Regions from separate parts of the Homo sapiens genome. Here region 1 is linked to region 2. Evidence: promoter capture Hi-C in 16 types of primary human blood cells and fetal thymus (Javierre and others, 2016). All regions are on one chromosome and are shown on one strand. Each heading gives the region's core, a stretch centred on a gene start or on the middle of the fragment in contact. The rest is flanking DNA. Distances are from core to core; before and after follow the strand shown.

Region 1 (5,161 bases), core at 2,059-4,558, 210 kb before region 2:
TAAAACCCCACAACTGTCCCAGCCTCTGTATATAGTATTGCCCACCAGCAGCAGGGTACCCCTTACTTCAATTTCAGCAGTCTCCCTTATCCTTAGAGAATATGTTCCAAGACCCCTAAGTGGATGTCTGAAGCCTCCGATAGTACTGAATCCAATTGCTGTCAATTAGAACACATTTCTGTTCACGTTTTCTACCCACAAATATAGTGCCTTTTTCATCTTAGCTAAGGACTTATCAAGCACTATGGCCTTCACTATTGCAGTTTGAGATACAACAGCAAAACTAGCATGGATTTTTCTTTTCTTCTTTATAATTGCAAGGATGAAAGATTTGTTCTTACCATAGGTCTTAGCAACCTCAGCATACGATTTTTTTTTCTCTCCTTAAGTTGAGAACTTTCATCTTTAAGCACCTAAAGTGCTTAAAGGAAGCACTTGACAGCTCGTCTTTAGCATATCTGAATGCCTGCACCACCACTCTTGCACTCTAGAGCCATCATCAAGTATAATAAGGGTTACTTGAACACAAGCACTGCAATACCATGACAATCTAATAATGAAGAAGGCTACTCAGTGACTAACAGCCAGGGACAGTAGACAGTGTGGAGACACTGGACAAAGGGAGGATTCATGTCCTGAACTGGATGAAGCCAGATGACACAAGATTTTGTGGCACTACTCAGAGCCACCTGCAAGTTAAAACTTACAAATTGTTCATTTCTGAAATTTTCTGTTTAATATTTTCGGACTGCAGTTGACCTCATGTAACTGAAACTGTGGAAAACAAAACTATGAATAAGGGGAGACTACTGTACTTCCAATTTAGCACCACCTACTACTCTCCTGTACTAATGATATGTGTGAAAGCCCAGGCTCAAGTCCCTGAGCTCAGGAGCTCTGCATTCCAAGGATTCTCTTTACCACCAACTTCCTGCCTCTATGAACTTTTTGACCCACATTCTTTGCCAGGTGACCGCTGAAGAATAGTGGAGGACAGCCAGATAGACTGAGATTACATAACATTCCCAACCTCCACCCCATTAAACACACAGAAATGCTGGATGAAATACATCCACACTCATCCCCCAAAGTCTACAAGTATAGCCAAGCCCAAAAGGGAAACCCTGAGGTGCTAGAACTGAAGAGGATAGTCATTATAATGGGAAATCATAAACTGATGTGGAATTTGACCCACACATCTAGAGTAAGAGACTTGGCCTTAGATTCACAGGAGGCAGAGAGCTGAACTCCAACTGCAGCCAAGAATCTGTAAAGGTTATACCTCCATATAAAAGAAACCAGAGAAACCTCAGCTATCAATCCAGAGAAACTTGCAAGAAAGTTTCTCTCTGCTTGAGTTCACAGTAGGGGAAAAATTATTCTCTTATGATAAATTAAAACCCCACCTCCATTCCTGGCAATATTATGGGACTGGATGGCCAAAGAAACTCCTCTGAGTATTGCATACTGAAAAACCAGGGTAAAAGGAAATTTTAAGAAGTTTTAACGCATGGCTGAGCTGGTGAGAAAGTAACAGAACCCCAACAAGAATCCCAAAATAACAAGTCCAACTTAGACGGGCTGTTGGATACCTGGGTGGTAACCACCAATTCTTGCCAGGCCCTCAGGTTGTGGTGATTTCCTGAGTAGTAGCAGCAGTACCTGGGAACAGAAATGCGAATACTTGGTTCCCACCACAAAACAACTAAATTAGAAACTCTAGGGGTGGGACCCAGCAATACATATCTCAGCAAGCCCTTCAGGTGATTCTGATGTACACTAGAGTTTGAGTACTAATGATTAAAACAACAAAAATTAGAAATGTAACTTTCAAACCATCAAATGGGTTTTTTTTTAAAGACAAATCTAATAGAAGTCAGGAAAGGAGAATAAAAGGAACAGGGGGACATTATTTCTGCTCATAAAACAAATTAAAATCATAAAAATAAAATTAAATATCTTAGCAATTATAATAAAAATAAAGGGGTTAAGCCTATCCGTGAAAATATTTTCTCAGACTTAAATTGAACATCAAACTGTATTTAAAAAAAAAACCTCCTATTTGTCATGTTCGGTGGCATGTGTCTATAGTCCCAGCTACTCAGGAGGTTGAGGCAGGAGGGTCAATTGAGCCCAGGAGTTCTGAGCTATAGTGCTGTATGCCTATGGGGTGTCCACACTAAGTTCAACATCAGTATGGTGACCTCCCAGGAGCAGGACCACCAGATTGCCTAAGGAGGGGTGAACCAGCCCAGGTCAGAAAGGCAGCAGGTCAAAACTCCTACACTGGCTGGCTCAGTAGCTTGCACCTGTACTCCCAGCTACTCAGGAAGCTGAGGAAAGAGATCTCTTAAAGCCAGGAGTTCGAGGCTGCCATGAGCTATAGCAGCACCAGCACAGGTGACAGAGAGAGATCCTGTCTCTAAAATAAAAACAATTTTTAATGATCAGCTACCTGCTTTTATATCTAAAATAAAATTACTTTCAAAGAAGCTTGAAAGTAAAAATACATAAAAATATATACCAATGCATGGAAATTAAAATATGTACTTCTCAGTGACCAGTGGCTTAATGAAAACATTAAGAAGGAAATTGAAAAATTCCTTAAAACAAATGACAATGAAAACACAACATACCAAAACTTAAAGGATACAGTGAAAGCAGTACTAAGAGGGAAATTTATAGCTATAAGTGCCTACATCAAAAAAGAAGAAACACCTCAAATAAATAACCTAAATAACCTATTGATGCATCTTAAAGAACTAGAAAAGCAAGAGCAAACTGAATCCAAAATTAGTAGAAGAAATGAAATAATAATCAGAGTAGAAATAAATGAATTTGAAATGAAGAAAACAATACAAAAGAATGATTTTTTTTTAATTGTTTTTTTTTAAAAAAATAAACAAAATTGACAAACCTTTAGCCAGACTAAGACAAAAAGAGAGAAGACCCAAATAAATAAAATCAGAGATGAAAAAGGAGACATTACAACTGATAGGGCAGAAATTCAAAGGATCGTTAGTGGCTACTACAGGAAACTATATGCCAATAAATTAGAAAATCTAGAAGAAATGGGCAAAACTCCTAGACACATACAACCTACCAAGACTGAACCATGAGGAAATCCAAAACCTGAACAGGGTAGTTGACAGAGCAGGAGCGTCGCCATCTTGGACAAACACCACCATTTTAAAGTTCACTTTCATCAAAAACTGCCTGAATCCAAAGGGCATCAGCCTAATGGCTAAGGTCAGCATGTTCATAAACCACAAATGACATCTCCAACCAGAAACATTCCAACCTTAAGATAAACCCCTCCCCAACCAGAGAGATGTCAGCCCCAAGATAACCTCCCCTCCAACCAGAGTCATTCCAACCCCACATAAACTTCTCCCCAACACAGAAACATTCCAAGCCTATGATAAGTTCTCTAGCCCTGAACCTTTAAATACTCTTAGTCTGTATGAGAGAATGCTCCTGACGGAAATCGGCCAGAAGCCCCTCTCAGGTTTATTCTCCAAAATAAACCTGTCTTTGACTGTTGAGCCACTTTTTGTGTTTCTTTCCTCTTTCTTTAACTCTTACACCAATAACAAGTAATGAGATCACAGATAAAAAATCTCCCAGTAAAGAAAATCCCAGGACATGAGGGCTTCACTGCTGATTTCTACCAAACATTTAAAGAACTGATACCAATCCTACTCAACTATTCTGAAATATAGAGGCAGAAGGTATACTTCCAAATTCATTCTAAGAGGCCAGTATTACCCTGATTCCAAAACCAGACAAAGACACATCAAAAAAAGAAAACTACAGGCCAGTATCTCTAATGAATATTGATGCACAAATCCTCAATAAAATACTAGCAAACCAAATTCAACAACACGTTAAAAAAATCATTCATCATGACCAAGCAGGATTTATCCCAGAGACACAAGGATGGTTCAACCTGTGCAAATCTATCAGTGTGATACATCATATCAACAGAATGAAGGATAAAAATTATACAGTCATTTCAATTGATGCAGAGAAAGTATTTGATAAAAGTTCAACATCCCTTTATAATACACATCCTCAAAAAATTGAGTATAGAAAGAACATACTTCAACATAATGAAAGCTTTATATGACAGACCCACAGCTAGTGTCATACTGAATGCAGAAAAACTGAAAGCCTTTCCTATAAAATCTGAAATACAACAAGGATGGCCACTTTCACCACTGTTATTCAACATAGTACTGGAAATCTTAGCTAGAGCAATTAGACAAAAAAAAGAAATAAAGGGCATCCAAATTGGAAAGGAAGAAGTCAAATTATCCTTGTTTGCACATGACATGATCTTATATTTAGAAAATCCTAAAGACCACCAAAGAAACTATACTGATAAACAAATTCAGTAAAGTTGCAGGACACAAAATCAACATACAAAAATCAGTGGCAGATCAGGCATGGTGGCTCATGCCCCCAGCATTTTAGGAGGCCAGGTGGGTGGATCACTTGAGGCCAGGAGTTCAAGACCAGCCTGGGCAACATGGTGAAACCCAGCTTCTACAAAAATACAAAAATTAGCCAGGTGTGGTGGCACACACCTCTAATCCCAGCTATTCAGGTGGCTGAGGCAGGAGAATTGCTTGAACTTGGGAGGCAGCGGTTGCAGTGAGACATGATCACACTACTGCATTCCACCCTGGGTGACAGAGCAAGACGGTCTCAAAAAAAAAAAAGGCATTTCTATATGTTAACAGGGAACAATCTGAAAAAGAAATTTAAAAAAAACCTAATCCCATTTACGATAGCCACAAATAAAATTAGATACCTAGGAATTAACCAAAGAAGTGAAAGATCTCTACAATGAAAACTATAAAACATGGATGAGAGAAATTGAAGAGAACACCACAAAATGGAAAAATATTTTATGTTCATGGCTTGGAAAACTCAATATTGTTAAAATGTCCATATTACCCAGAGCAATCTACAGATTCAATGCAACCCCTATCAAAATACCAATGACATCTTTTATGGAAATAGAAGAAACAATCCTAAAATGTATATGGAATAACAAAAGACACAGAATAGCCAAAGCTATCCTGAGCCAAAAGAACAAAACTGCAAGAGTCACATTATTTGACTTCAAATTATGTTACAAAGCTATAGTAACCAA
Region 2 (5,089 bases), core at 1,537-4,036:
GAAGAAATAGGAATATGTGTTTTTCATGGGGGTGGGGGAGGGAGGGAAATTTCCACATATGAACATTTGGTAAGTAATTAGTTTTGGAGGTCTCTAAGCTACCATTATAACTAACAATTATTACCTTTCTTTATATGGCACTGAATACTTTGCAGAGAAATTTCACATAACTTTCTTTACACAAAAATCCTGCGAGGTAAGATTCCAGGATATTATTAAAGCAATAATGTAACCCTTATTCATGCATCTAAGAACCTAGTCTAACTGGAAAGGCAACACAAAAAGTAGAAAATAAGCAGAAAGATCTCTGAGATAGCAAACCAAATGGCAATAAGTGTATGCACAGAAAAGAGCCTCTCACTCAGAACCTATATTCTCTTATTTAACCTGAAATTCTAACAGGGTTCATTTCCTTCCTAAAACTGCAGTGGATTAAAAGTAACAAAACAGAAACTATTACAGAGAAGCACTCTGAAAGCCTCCTAGATGCGTACACAGGAGAGCAGAGGCAAGAACTAAAAACAATCAAAAGAGCAGTTAGTGCAAAAACAGAAAACCCTAAACACTCACTAAGTAGGATAAGCTCAGACTCTCTCCGCCCTGGATCCTGACCCTCCACGAATCAGTTCCTCACAAACCACCTCAGCCATCTTTCAGGAACGGAAATGTGATCCTGCTTGCCTGCTCCCAACTCTTGGCAACCCTTCATTGACTTTCCAGGCTCATAAGACAAAATCATTATTTAAAAACGGTCCACAAAGTCTGCCTGCCTCTCCAGTCTCATCTCACTTCGGCCCCACCTGCTTGGGCCTTTTCACATTTCCTTCCCTTTACCTGGAAGTGTCTCAATGCTGCCTCTCCTGGGGGATCTGAAATGTCATTTCCTTAGAAAGCCTTACCTAGTCCCAGAGTCCACATTAGGTTTTCCCGTGCACCTTAGCGCCTTTGCAGTTGAGAATTTATCACAGTTGCACTTAGTCTGATTGTTTTATTTGTTTGTTTGTTTTTTGAGACACCAAGGCTGGAGTGCAGTAGCGCGATCTCGGCTCACTGCAACCTCCGCCTCCCGGTTCAAGCATTCTCGTGCCTCAGCTTCCCGAGTAGCTAGGATTACAGGCGTGCACCAACACGCCCGGCTAATTTTTGTGTTTTTAGTAGAGACAGGGTTTCGCCATGTTGACCAGGCTGATCTCAAACTTTTGGCCTAAAGTGATCTGCTGGACTCAGCCTCCCAAAGTGCTGGGATTACAGGCGTGAGCCACCGCGCCTGGCCAGTCTGATAGTTGAATACCTATTTCCTTCAGCGTACTGTGAGCTCTGGTGGAAAAGGACCATGTCTGGCTCGTACATATGCCAAATAAGTATTCACCGGAAAAAATATGAGTAATGTCACAGGACAAGCAGACATCTTCCTAGTATATAATTTTAAATTTTACTAAAATCTTTTTGAGAAGGTAGCTATTGTTTTATTAAAGCAAAAAAAAATTACAAAGTACAATGCAAAATTCATATGAATTTTAAAGCTAAAACAAGACTTTCAGAATGCTTTAGGCTACACCCCCAGACTTCTCTAGAGACGTGCTTAAAATAATATGGAAACACGGTGTGGTAAAAGATCCATTTCCCAAGGGATCTGGATAACCAGCGCTTATCTTCATTTTACTGGAGAATACATGTGCGGAGAGGGCTTTGCAAACTACAAGGCTTTGTGCATTATAACATTATTATGGAAAAATCTGTGTTTCTAAGAGGGGGAATGATTTAGCTATTGCATTGCCAATTACAGGTGGGGCTGGCGCCAGAGCCCAGGCCTCCCGGGGCCTGTCTAGCCCACAGCTTTTCATTAATGCACAGCACTTGCCACCTGGTCCCTGCCGCAAAGGGTGGCCTCTCGAGTTAGGAGCCATATCTAGGGCGGATGGCCTGTGCTAGGCTCAAAGACACTTAAGTTCCGATCAACCAGAACTGAGGAGCGGGTAGGAAAACCAAGCCGAGCCTTCCTCGGCTTCACAATCCGCAGGCTCTCCGCTGTCCCCGGCGGGACTCGGCAGTTCCCCTGGAGGGCTGCAGCCCGGCTGTCTTCGCTCAGGCCCAAGCCCGCGCGGCTCTCCCCCTGGCGGAGAACTCGCAGGACTGCGACGCATTCCGGAGACGCCGTCAATCTCCGAATTTGAAGCGCAGGCGATATCTAAGGGGCCTGGGAAGCGGGAAAGCTCGGGAGTCACTCCGGAGAGAACACCCTGCAGGAGTCGACGCGGCTGCCTGGCTTCGTGGTCCTGCAGCGTGGCCCGTTGCTTCGCGCAGAGGTTGGCCACAGCTGCTGGCTAGGAAACTGGGGACCACCTGGGTTGCCACCGAGGAGGGTGGAGGCCCCCGTCAGTCCCCTCGGGGATGCAGCTGCATTTTCCCCTCCTTGCGTCCGGCCGGGAGCCAGAGGATGGGGCTGTGGAACCCATTCCGAAAGGCAGGGCGGGCCCTTCGGAACCCGGACGCGAGGGAAGGCGAGAGGCGCGGGTGTGCCGCACGCCCACCGGCGCCGGGGCAGGGGCGCTGCAGCCGGCGGCCCACGGAGGACATCAGCGGTGCCGCCGCCGCCGCCGCGGGCTCGCGGGCCGCGCGCGCACGCGAGTGGGCGAGGGAGGCAGGGGCGCTACTAGCAGGCGGCGTGCGCGCGCGCGCTCCCCCGCGCCCTCCCTCGCAGGCCCGCCCGGCCCCAGCGCGCGTCACGAGGGGCCAGCGAGCTAGCTGGAGGGCGGGAGGGAGGGTGGGGAAAGGGGGTGGGGCCGCGAGACCGGAGGGGTCCGAGCAGCGGCTGCGGAGCCGGAGCTGGGCGAGGGCGGCTGCGGTCCCGGCGGCGGCGGCGGCGGCGGCAGCTGCGGCGGGAGAAGATGGTGGCGCTGGAGGCAGCAGCGGCTGGAGCGGAGCTTTATTCCCAGGCTTGGCACCAGCGCTGTCACTAGCGCCGCCTGCTCCCGCGGGCCCGCGGACCCAGCTGTCAGGCAAGGTACCACAGCCAGGGAGGGGTGGGTGAGAAGGGGTGCCCGGCGCTGATGCGGCCCCCGACGGAGCCCGGGTCCTCGCCAAAGGGCGCCCCCGGACGCGAGAGGGGCTGCCTGGAACAATAGTGCGGAGGAGCGGAGGCAGCAGGCGACATCCAGGAGGCAGTGCCTGGAACCATCAGCTAGCGAGGCGGGGGAAGGCGGCGTTGCGAGCGAGACGCCTGGGGTCCGGTGCCCGCTGAGATGCCGGGCTTCGGGCGCAGCAGGCGGGCCTGATGACAGTCATGGCAGGAGTGAGTGTGTGAGAGTGTGTGTGTAAAAGGTACAGCAGAGGGGATGGGGTGGCGGACGGAGGTGTTGGGGGGTGACATTTCCAGGAATCCCCGCTAGGACCCCCTCATCTCTCGGCTGACTCTCCTGGAGAAAGAATGTGATGATGGAAACGGTGAGGTGGGCAGGATGCACTTGGTGTGTGAAGTGTGGAGGGAGGCAGTGGGATAGGGGCCGGTTTGTAAAATCCTGTATATGTGTGTGTACGCGTGTGGTTGCATCCACGTTCCCCAAACTGCGCCCCAAATCCAGAGATCTGCCGCTGCCCTTACTTGATGTCACCGGCTAAGACTGTGGGACAGTGTTTGTTATTTTGACCCTGCAACTCTGAGCACAGTGTCTGTTCTGCTCCTGCGTGTGGATGGCCCAGTGTAGGGATTCTCGCTTCCCCTTCCTCTGGCCTCATGACATGGGGATGTGGAAGTGAGCATGTTGCTTTGAGGCACATGGCAGGGAAATAGGATAACCGTTACACATTCTGGGCTTGCTAATGTACCTGGTTTTGAAGGGGCCTTCCATCCTGTGATACTACTTCTCTCCTTAGCACCTGTTCCATAAGGGTCTTGTACTCCCTGACTGTGCAGTTTCTATTGTTTTTCTCTTGTCTGACCAGAAGGAGAAGGATGTTGAATGATCAGATTCCTCTTCCTGTCCCCACAACTTTCAATGCTAGCTAGACCTTCTCCTTCCACATTTAAGCACTGAAAACCTTATGGCTAGAGGATGGATGGTCTTTGTGTTGGTTCTTTTAGAATGAACTCTGGAGGTGTATACGTATAGAGAGATGCGGTGGGGCGGGGGGCGGTCTTTTAAAAAGAAGAAAAATATCACACGGAGAAATGTTTGGTGCCCACTTGGTCAGCATCACACAGCCAGGGCGTTTTCCTCAGGAAACAGGATACTTTATTTCTACTGCTGGTGACATCCACTCTCCCAGCTGTCACAATAGCTAGGTGGTGCCGTGTATCATTTGGAAACTGAAATCTCCTGAGACCCACAGCGATGGGGTCCCAGGTCAGTAAAGTCCCTGCTTTCCTACCTGATAGAGCCCACTAGTAGGGAATTTGGAAAAATGTCAGGCTGGCAACAACTCACCCAGTGGGAACAAGGACACAGAAATGCATCCAGAGTCTATGGCTGTTTAATTGTCTCTGCGTGGTAAAGATAGGTGTGTGTAGGTAGGGTTGGGTAGAGGTAGGCAGGGAGATGGCATATTCATGTGTATCCAGGGCAGTGTGATTCCCCCTCACCTATGTTTCTCCTGCGGTATTCATAGGAATGAGTGCACTTTACACTTAATATCTCGACACTTCTTTATTAAAATGTTGTATGACTAGCTTAATCTGCTTAGGACATGTTTTAGTCATAACACCTTAAATTCTACTGCATTGTCGGAATCCAAACTGGCTGCCCGGTTCTCTTCGAAAAGCCCGTAGCAGTCATGGCTACACAAGTAAATATACAACATGTTGGCACCAGAGATTTATTTTTCTTTTTTAAAATTTTTGTTTTGCTTTCTTTTATGGGCAAAGATTGCATGATATCGTTGTGAAAATAATAAAACTAGGGCTATCCACATATGCTTTTTTTTCTTCCCATGTATCTTATTTAATGATATATAGACAAGGTGCTCTTGAAGCTGTCTATGTAAAGTAAATTTCCCCATGTTCTTCAAGTCAAGCCTTCTAAGATTTTAATGTGAGGTTGGTTGTTGGCTGTCATCCAAGATTTAAGGATAGATTTATAAAAATGAATTTTGA

The links. Contacts are between HindIII fragments. The CHiCAGO score rates a contact against its expected background, and 5 or more counts as called.
Region 1: a contact is called between a fragment that was not itself captured here and the fragment with the promoter of APBA1 in region 2, in 2 of 17 cell types (M2 macrophages and erythroblasts). The highest score is 5.3, in M2 macrophages.

What each region holds. Positions count from the first base shown.
Region 1 is chr9:69,881,554-69,886,714 of GRCh38, reverse strand. All of the region lies in intron 4 of CFAP95 (cilia and flagella associated protein 95), which reads right to left. It also overlaps the pseudogene RN7SL570P. Among named protein-coding and RNA genes, the nearest start is that of CFAP95, 63 kb to the right of the region's middle. The HindIII fragment of the contact is 1,626 bases long and covers 2,496-4,121 here.
Region 2 is chr9:69,670,068-69,675,156 of GRCh38, reverse strand. It overlaps APBA1 (amyloid beta precursor protein binding family A member 1), which reads left to right and starts at 2,786. Exons shown (of 13, transcript NM_001163.4): 1 at 2,786-3,004. RefSeq lists silencers at 2,709-2,758, 2,939-3,018. The HindIII fragment of the contact is 15,920 bases long and covers 1-5,089 here.